Linked DNA regions of Homo sapiens: region 1 is linked to region 2. Evidence: promoter capture Hi-C in 16 types of primary human blood cells and fetal thymus (Javierre and others, 2016). All regions are on one chromosome and are shown on one strand. The core of a region is centred on a gene start or on the middle of the fragment in contact, and the rest is flanking DNA. Distances in the headings are between cores, read along the strand shown. Region 1 overlaps SHROOM4 (shroom family member 4). Region 2 holds the start of BMP15 (bone morphogenetic protein 15).

The links. The method cuts DNA at HindIII sites, captures the fragments that hold promoters and counts their contacts. A CHiCAGO score of 5 or more calls a contact.
Region 1: a fragment that was not itself captured here is called in contact with the fragment with the promoter of BMP15 in region 2 in 1 of 17 cell types (M1 macrophages); the score reaches 5.2 in M1 macrophages.

What each region holds. Positions count from the first base shown.
Region 1 is chrX:50,674,265-50,679,176 of GRCh38, reverse strand. The region is part of intron 2 of SHROOM4 (shroom family member 4); the gene reads left to right. Among named protein-coding and RNA genes, the nearest start is that of SHROOM4, 140 kb to the left of the region's middle. The HindIII fragment of the contact is 8,824 bases long and covers 1-4,912 here.
Region 2 is chrX:50,908,045-50,913,339 of GRCh38, reverse strand. BMP15 (bone morphogenetic protein 15) reads right to left here and starts at 2,605. Exons shown (of 2, transcript NM_005448.2): 1 at 2,229-2,605. The coding sequence starts at 2,556. The HindIII fragment of the contact is 1,193 bases long and covers 2,086-3,278 here.

The DNA of each region.
Region 1 (4,912 bases), core at 1,619-4,118, 230 kb after region 2:
GTGGTGTAAAGGAGAGAAAGAAAGGGCACTCAGAAATGTAGGAGGAGACGTGGGAGAGTGGTGTCATGGAAACCAAGGACAGGGAGAGGATTTCAAGAAAAAGCAGTCCAACAATCAATAGTGCTGAATATTCTTGCATTTTAGTTGGATGAATATTGAAAAAAGACTATTGAGTTTGCTAATTCAGAGGTTACTGGTTGACTTTGGCAGAAAAGGCTTTATTAAAACATTATGAGCAGAGGCCCAATTTCAGTGAAGAGTGAATGGGAGATGAGGAATTGTATTTTCTTTAGAAAAGGAGGGTGGCAGGGGGTAAATTGGGGAGAGGGACCTATTTATCTCCTGTATTAGACTGTGAATTCCTTGAGAGAGAACATGTCAGATTCACTAGGGTATGACACTGCTAGTTTTCAACAAAAGTTGAGTGTGAGAGTGAAGGAATAAGTTCTGCACCCAGATAGATTCAACAAAATCTTCTAAGATGTTCTTCTGAATTGGATCTGTTCTGCCAGACCCTCAAAACATGTGGTTAGAAAAAAATCACTGAGGAAGTACTTCTGTACCCTAGAGAAGTAGAAGAGTGGAGGTGACAGGATGTCATTGAAATGCAATTTGTGGTCTCTGGACACCTGCCCCACTGCCCAATGTATAGGAAGAGACCTGGAAGGTCTGACCTCAGAACTGCAAGAAATTAGTTGGTGTTTTCTGCATAGGGTAGGAAATACTGAGATGGCTAGAAGTTATGGTGGGGTTGCAGTTTTGTCTGCTGAGTTTAGCTTAAGATTAGGTCAGCCATGGTGGAGAGGGGAGAGAATTTGTTATGATAGGCATATAGCTATATTTGAAGGATATAAATACAGCAGCAAAAGAGGAATTGCATAGAATGAGATCAGGGTAGATCAGAGCTTAATTAGATGAAATCAGGACAAGGGCTGTTTAGGCTGACTATCAGAGAAACCATCTTGATGCTAAAAATTACTGGAGCGTGGGCTAACCTTTGAGAGGAAATGGTGGAAACTTTGCCACTGAGTCATTTATAATTATTTACAATTATACAGGACAATTTTGTTGAAAAATAATGTAGCATAATACAAGGAGTGGTTTTGCTCTGTTCCCAGGATGGAATGGATGTGACTTAATAACTTTTTCCTACGCTAATTTGGTTGATTGTGTCAGAGAAAAGATAGGTTGGTCATTTTGTTTTTCCCCTTTTGAATGACTCATACTTGAGTTGATCACAGCCATACAACCAAAAGAATACCCACTGATTAGGCAGATAACAGAATGTAGAATGGGAAGTCAATAGGTTGACTTAGAACTCAGACTTACCTAAAACTTGGAGAATTGGTCAGGAACCAATAAGTTTCCATAAAGCTAGGCCTTGTGTTTTTCACCATTAATCTCCAGGACGTGGCTTCAGAGCCTGGAATACAGTATTTGATGAATAAACAAATAGTCAATGAATGAATGCATGAATGTCACTTTGGGAAGAACACCTAGGACCACCAGTATAAGATTAGCAGTGGACTGATAAGTTGGACGTCTGCCTTAATATCTCTGGGTCCATTTTCTCACCTCTTTTTCACTGATTTCTACTGAGGATGAAATGAGAGCATGCAGATACTTAGAATTTAGCATCTTTAGAAGTATTAGCTGTCTTTTCCCCTTTATTTTTCTAGACTCAATCTCACCAGTCAAATCAAACTTTATGTTTTACCACATTAGGAAGAGAGAAAATTATGCCTTTTGTCTATTAAAAATCCTAGATATCGGTGTTGAGATATCTTAGATTGACATTAACCAAAACCACTGGCAATTGTAGAACAATTTTTAAAAACAATAAACAGCTAAGGCACTACCAGGTATGATACTCCTTCACTTTGCCTTTTATCAGCTCATCCCAAATCTTAATTTAAATTCAAATAAAATGAAAATGTTCTCTAGAAGCATGTTTTCATCCTTGGGCCTCCCTTAGTATCCAAAATACTCAAGTCTGCCATTCTCAGGGATTAACTATAATTCATACTGTGTTGGCCATTGATATGTTCCCCTAGCCTTGACTATTGGAGCTAACTAGTGGGAAACTCCAACTTTACCTGTTCAACATCTTTGCTTTCAGATTTCCTTCCACCATTCTTTGTCCTTCCACACCAGACAGAATTTATAGAAAAGGGAATAGCTTCATTAAGGAAGTGATGCCACTATGTATGTAAAAATCCCGTTTCTCTCTTTCTTTAAGCAGGAAATATTTTCTATTTTTATCCTTTGCATTACTTTTCTTCCTTCCACTTTGCTGCTTTTCAAGCTGGAATTAAGAGACACCAGTTTAATTTGGATACAATAACTGGACTTGATTAATATTCCGGTACAGCTCACTTCCTTTAACAACAGGGCCTGACACTTTTTTTTTCTCTGAAATGTTTTTTTCAAGGGCTTATATCCCTTGCACAGAACAGAATGTTTTGAACAATATTTAAACGCAGTTTTTGATCAGAGAGTTAAAGTGATCCTATCATAATAGCTAAAGATGGGTACAAAGAATTTGGTGAGCAATCAAGGAAGTGATATAAAATAATTAATGGATAGAAAAGTCATTCAAGTGAAGGCTTTGTGAAAGAATCAAGATTATTCAACCCAGAGAAGATAAAATTTTCAAGCCCTTAGAAATAGCCACTTGCCATGGATGGTTTCAAACACAAAAACAAAACAAAACCAAAGCAAAATTGCCGACTTAACTCATTTCACAGCCAATTTAATGTCCATAGGGGAGTTTTGCCTTGCAAAATAAATAAGCTGTGTATTTGATTCTTCATATATTTGTTTTGTAAGACAAGAAGAAGTGATTTAATAACTGCTTTCAAGGACTAGAAAAAAAAAAAACTACTTTTCTAGAATACCAGGAATTGAATCCCATAATCTTATCCACATCTTTTTCCCTGTCAACCCTAGGGCCTCCCATCAGCCACTTTATTTGTCTTGAAAAATCTACTTCCCCATGCTGTCCAGACTGGAAAACATAATTCCATGATACACACAATAGGGTATCTAACTGTCTTCTTTTTCCATTAAGACAGCACATGAAGAAACAGTATCATTTGTAGCAGGAAGGATTTTAGCTAGGTCTTCTAGAGAACTAAATCACTTTCTGCAGTCAGTAATAAATCACCAAAGAAAGCTATGGAATTTTCTTTACTGACTTCAGCAGATCCTTACCTCCCCAGAGATGCTATGTGGAGATAGAAGAGAAGGGAGTTGGCAGCAATGGCTGAGAAATGGCAGCCTTTTCATCTCTTTGTCTTATTCAAGCCAGAGTTCTCTAAATGTTAATGCATTGAGGGGAATCTAAACTAGTTTTGTGAAGACCGAATGGCAAATAGTCAAAAAGGAACATTGGACTTTGCTCTATCAATTTTTTTTTGTCTCTCAGACACCCAGCTTCTCAGTGTGCCCTTTCAGTATGTAACATAATTTACTACTATAGCATCAACTATTTGAATACTGATGCCTCACACATTTACATCTCTAGTCCAGAACTATTTTCTCAATACTAACTTCATATTTCCAGTTGTCTGGAGGACATTTTTGCCAAGAAACACAGGTACCTCAAACTCAATATGTTTTAATACTTTCCCCCCATCCAGAAACAAGAATGCCCTCTCCTCCTTTCCTGTTCCTGATCACATTTAATGGTCCTAGTCCTTTAAAGTAGGAATTCAAGAAGCATCTTGATCCCCTCTTCTCTCAGCTACCCACTTCACCTTTATCAAATCAGTTACCAAATCCTGTTGGTTCTACCTCAGATATGTATTCATTCAAATCTCATTTTTCAAAACTTTTATTGTAAGTTCAGGGGTACAAGTGAAGGTTTGTTACATAGGTAAAGAGTTAATAGGTAAACTTGTGTCATGGGGGTTTGTTATACAGATTATTTCATCACCTAGATATTAAGCCTAGTACTCATTAGTTATTTTTGTTGATCTCTCCCTCCTCCCACCCTCCACCTTCCAAAAGGCCCCAGTGTGTGTTGTTCCCCTCTCTAAATGATGACAACGTATGGACAAATCTCATACATTTAGCCTCCTTGAACATATTAACCGTTCCCTGAATACAGTGTCCTCTCATGTCTCTGCCTTTGCAGATACTGTTCTCTTTGCTTAGAATAGTGTCCCACTCCTTTACCTGCTAAGTCTCTGCTCATTGTTAAAGGTTTCTGCTATGTATTACAAACTGTTCCTCATCCCTACAGGAGAGCTCCGTCCTCTGTGCACTTAACCACATCTCATCATAACTGTTAGTTTAGATATTGCTTTTCTCTACTAAACTATGATTTCCTTGAAGACAGGGGCTGCATTTTAATTATCTGTAAAGTCTCAGTATCCACAACATGATAGTCTATGTTAACAATTAATGAAGGAATGAATGATGTAACTCAAATCCAATTTATCGGTTTTTCCTTTGATGAATTAATATATACTTTTGGTGTCAAGTCTAAAAACTATTTTCAATGTCCTAGATCCCAAATTTTTTCTCCTATTTTTTTCTAAAATATTTATAGTTTTACATTTACATTACCTCTACATTAAGTCTATGATCCATTCTGAGGTTTTGTGTGCATGTTTAAGTATCAGACTTAGGTCGAGGTTTGTTTTTAGGCCTGTTGTTGTCTCATTGTTACAGCACCATATGTTGAAAAGGCTATCTTTTTTTCCATTGAATTGCTTTTGCAACTTTGTCAAAAATAAGTTTGGCATATTTGTGTGGGCCTATTTCTGTGTTTTCTATTCGATTCCATTGATATATGTGTCTGACCCTCTACCAATACCATACAGTCTTGACTGCTATAGTTATCAAAGTCTTGAAATTGGGTATATTGATTCTTACTTTATTCTTCTTTTTCACAATTGCTTTATCC
Region 2 (5,295 bases), core at 1,356-3,855:
CTCTGGTCTCAGCCTCGTGAGTAGCTGGGACCACAGGTGTGCACCACTACACCCAGCTAATGTATTTTTATTTTTTGTAGAGACATGTCTCCCTGTGTTGCTCAGGCTGGTCTCAGTCTCCTGGGCTCAAGTGATCTTCCCATATTGGCCTCCCAAAGTGCTTGATTTTTTGCAACTTTCTGCTGCTCTTAGGATCCAGATCCCTTATCACAGCCTACAAGTCCCTGCTTCTCATTAGCCTCATACCCTGCCATTTCCCACAATGCTCATGAGGATCCAGCCATACTGATTTTCCTCTGTTCTTCAATTGGAACCAACTTGTTTTCACCCTCTAGGCATTTGCACCTGTTGTTCCTCTGCCTAAATCAGGCTTCTCCCTACTCTTCTCATGCCTAGTTTATCTTATAGACCTGAGCTCAAATGGCACTTCTTCAAAGATACATTCCCTGACAAGTCCATGGAAAGGGAAGGTTTCATTGCCATTCTCTATCTTAACAACCTACTTCATCCTTTGATAGCACTTACCACAATTCACAATTTAACTGTGTGTGCTTATTTGTCTCCCCTACGAGAACATATGTTCCATGAAAGTAGGGGTTTTACCTATCTTGATCACATCTGTATGCCTAGTACTCAGTAGGTGCCAACATTTGGCACCTAATATTTGTTCAATGAATCTCTACCCACACCATTTTCTCTTTCCTAAATCAGAATGCACTTATCTGCCTCAATGCATGACCTCTTTGCTCCTTCTGCAAGGTCAGTTTCAAGTACTACCTCCTCCATGAGGCCTTCCAACAGTCTCTTCACTTCAAGAAATGAGCCATTTCTTCTCATAGGTCCTGGGAGCCCTACTGTTTGTCCTTTCCAAAGCACTTGGCATACTGTAACATTATTATGTAATTATCTATCCATTCCACTATACTGGGAACTTCTAGAGGTCGGAAAAGTATTTGCTTCTATATACCCAACCCAAACACACTGCCTGGCACTCAATTAAAATCCAGTGGGGAGTCAGAACAGCAAGATGATTAACACACAGGCTTTGGGCCTGAGAGCCTGGGTTTGATACCTGGCTCTAGCAATTACTGGTTGTATGACATGGGTAAGTGACTCTGATCCTCAGTTTCTTCACCTATCAAGTAGGCATGTTAATACTACCTAATCTGGTAGTTGTGAGGATTAAGATAATGTTTATAAAACATTTTGTGCAATGCCTGGCACACAGTAATCTCACAGTAAGGGTTAGGTACGAGAATATTTATTGTTTTGCTTGGGGAGGGGATTAAGTCCTGTCCCTTTTCATCTCAGACTAGTGAAGGCTACAGATTGATCTCACTAGGTTCCCAAGAATTCCTTGAAGTTGATGACTGTCTGCATTCTCTAGAGAGTCCTACACTTCAATAGCCCACTGTTGTCCTGCAACAATGTCTGATGCAAATGTTAAAAGCAAAATCAAGCATGATGGGGACAAAAAAAAGTTCCAAAATACACTTAGTCCCAGAATCCCAAAGTAGCAATATGGCCCAAGTAGAAAAACTATTGGGGGTACAAGGATATTGGAATACTGCATTTAAAGACTTAAGAAGTTACCGACAGACTTTAGAATCAGACAGACTTCAGCTGCAATCCCATCTCTGCGACCCACTATCTGTGTACCATTTGCAAGTTACTTAACCTCTCCGTGCCTTAGTTTTAAAATTAGGCTAATTGCATCAAGACAGTTAAGATAGTAGCTTTCATTAAGAAATACAGTAGCACATGTTCACAGAGCCAGGTATACAGACCCTCAGATGTAAGCTTATTTATGTCCTTTCTGAGGCCTTATAAGTTTCCCCAACTCAGCAAGCTGTACTCTAAGAGCAAAACGCCACTTAAATAGCCCTCCACAAGAATATAGCTGGATATGTCTCTACAGTTTTCAGAACTATCACAAGCAATAAAAGTTTCTGTGAAAGATAGGTGATGGCACATCACTCAGTTGTCCTGGGGCCTGGGAAAGATTTCTCAGTAGGCACCAAGGCAATCTGTTCTTAAGTTGATGCCCTAAAGGGAAGTAGGCTTGGCGCTGGCTTCTCCAAAGCTTGCCATCCTTTGAAAACCAAGCCTAAAGAAACAACCTGCCCACAAGGCAACAAAGCCTGACAGTAAACCCACCAATTCCCTTTTCTCTACACTCCTCTCCACTTCTCTCCCTTCCAGGGCAGTATGGGGGCATAACAACTCACCTCTGTGAGGCCTTGCCACATTGGTCAAGGGCTTCACCAGCCTCACCATGGTGGCCCCAATGGTGCGGTTCTCTCTAGGGTGCCCATGCGAGTCAGCTGAACGCCGGTACAACTCCAGCATGTACCGCAGTGAATGCCCTAGGAGCCGGGGCTTCCTTGGCTGTTCGCCAGGGGATTCTTCTAGCAGCTCCTCAATCAGGGGCAAAGTAGGGGCCTCAGCCAGAAGGGCAATAGAGGACTGCCCTCCTTCTGCCATTTGGGCCCTGTGTTCCATGAAAAGCACGAGTTCACAAAGAAAAAGAATTCTAAGAATACTGAGGAGGACCATCTTGAAAGGCTTAGTGTTCAACAACAGGCCCCAACACAAGCCCAAGGGACGTCACTCTGACCATTTCCTTTCATGCAGATAACTGCATCCTGGCTCCACAACCAAGGATGGGGCAAGAAAAAGAAAGGCAGGCAGGCCCTATGTTGCTTTCTCTAAGAGGATCTCCTGGACCAAAGTTGCCTCATAACTTGGCCTCTTTGCATCAAAAGAAACAGAAACAGAAGGTGGGACAAGGCAGCATGCCCCTCCCGCTCTCCCGGGCTGAGAACAAGATAGTACCTATTGAGAGGCTCAGGTAACTTAAAAGGAGAGGTCCATTTCAGGACCCACTTCCTTAACTTATCCACTAGAATGAAAAAAAGCAGCCTGATCCTACTTGCCCCTACAGCCTTAAAAGTAGTCCCTTAATCCATCCTTAAAGGGCCAGAGGCCTCCTGTTCCCATCCTACTTCCATGCCTCTAATGCAGCATTTCTCAAAATATTGTCTGCTAATAATCTGCAGTGAAACTATCTGGGGTGATTATTAAGAATGTAGACTCCTGGGTCTGAACCAGGATTCTCTGGGATGGCGTCCAGAAATCTGGCTCTTTACCAGTGCTCCAAGAAGTTCCTATGAAAACCTAAAATGTGGAAACTACTGAGTATGGCTGCTGGAGCTTGAAGAAGATGCCGTAACAGTGGTTCTCAATCTTGGCTGTAGATTGGAATCATCTGGGAAGCTTTAACTATTATGAATGCCTGGGTACCATTCTGATGTAATGGGCCTGGGTTGTAACTAGTGCATCAGGATTTTTTTAAGTTCACAAGTGATTTTAATGTGCAGCCACGTTTAAGGACTCTGACTTATAATTTTCTGGTTTACCTTGGAAGGTGTTGAGATCCTTATTGGGCTTCATTAGAGAAGCCTGAGGAAGGGGAAGAGTAATCTATGGGAGCTAACCTAGCCCAGATGGTTAATGTGAAGCAGCAGGGCTCGGCCAGTTTTAAGGCTGCCTCAGACCATTATTCTGCAGAAAGATAGTAGGTATAGTCCTGGCCGTACCGAAGTAGAAACATATGGGGATCTGGAGAGAAACTGGGGAAGCAGGTCAAGACCTGGCTCTAGGAGATGATGAGTCAGGCTTGATTTGTGGGAGGCCTTTACCTTACACCAGGAGTATCTATGGACAGACATTACTGTGGAACAGGCGTGGACTTGGTAATCAGGCAGATCTGTGTTTGAGTTGCAATTCTGTCCCTAGCTGTAATTTAACCTTTCCAAGGCAAATTTCTAGCTGTAATTTAACCCTTCCAAGACAAATTTCTTCACTTCCCTACACCTTAGTTTTCTCATCTGTAGAATGGAGATAACACGTTTTACCTCACAGGTTGTTGTGAGGAAGCAAGGAAATAATCTATGTTAATTGCACAAAGCCTAATTAGACACAAGACATAGGGTTACATGTTCAAATTTATTTGTGCTCTTCCTCTGTTTTTTTTTCTAACATGACCTTGGGCCCTGGCATGTAGTGTAAAACAAAAGGCATAGGTTTACGGGTCCTCTACATCTGGACTCAAATTTCAGCTCAAAAACTCATTAGCTGGGTTACTTTAAGCAACATTTCTCCCAGACTTAGTTTCTTCATCTATACTGCTGGCTCCTTCAGAGAGCTGTTGTGAGGGTTGTATTGTATAATATACAAGTAAGGGATATAAACAGATGATTCACAATAGGCAAAATTTAGATGGTCAAATGTATGAAAAGATGTACTGGAAATCAGAAAAACGCAACTGAAAACAACATTAAGATACTATTCAACACCCAGTATTGATAGCACATTAAATGGATCGATAGCACATTAAAAGTCTGGCACTATTAAGTTCAGGTGAGGATATGGAACATAGGTATAATATATAGAATATCTATATAGATATTCTATATAGAGAGATTCTATATAGAGAGATATGGAACATCTCACACTGCTGTTGAGAGTGTGATTTGGTATAATAATTTTGGAGAGCAATCTGGCATTATCTCTGTTAAGGTTGAAGATATACAATTCAGCAATGCTATTGCTAAAGCAGTAGCAGTTTTAGATACTTTTGTCTGTGACTTACAAAAATGAATACATTTTACATTGCTACCCATTACAAACACAAGCACACACGCATATATACCTTGAAGTAAATCTTTTCTGAAACAATACTTATTCTTACAACATATTGGAAGAGGCAATACAGTTGACCCTTGAACAACATGGGGGTTAGGGGTGCTAACTCGCCCCCCCATCTCCCATGCAGTCAGAATTTGGTATAACTTGACTCCCCAAAAACTTAACTACACGTCAACCTTGAACAACATGGGTTTGAACTTCACGAGCCCACTTAAACACGTTTTTTTTTTCCCACCAAACATGGATCAAAAATACAGTATTCTCAGGATGCAAAACCCGCTTACATGGAGGACTGACTTTTTGTATGTGTGGGTTTTGAAAAATAGACTGCACGCGACTTGAATATGTGCAGACTTTGGTATCTGCAGGAGGTCCTGGAATCAATCTGTCATGTATACAGAGAGGAGGGATGACTATACTAATAGTCCGCTGTTGGCTAGAAGTCTTATGGATAACAATCAATTAACATATTTTGTATGTCGTATGTTTTATATACTGTATTCCTACAATGAAGTAAGCCACAGAAAAGAAAATGATTTTAAGGCCAGGGGCAGTGGCTCACACCTGTAATCCCAGCACTTTGGG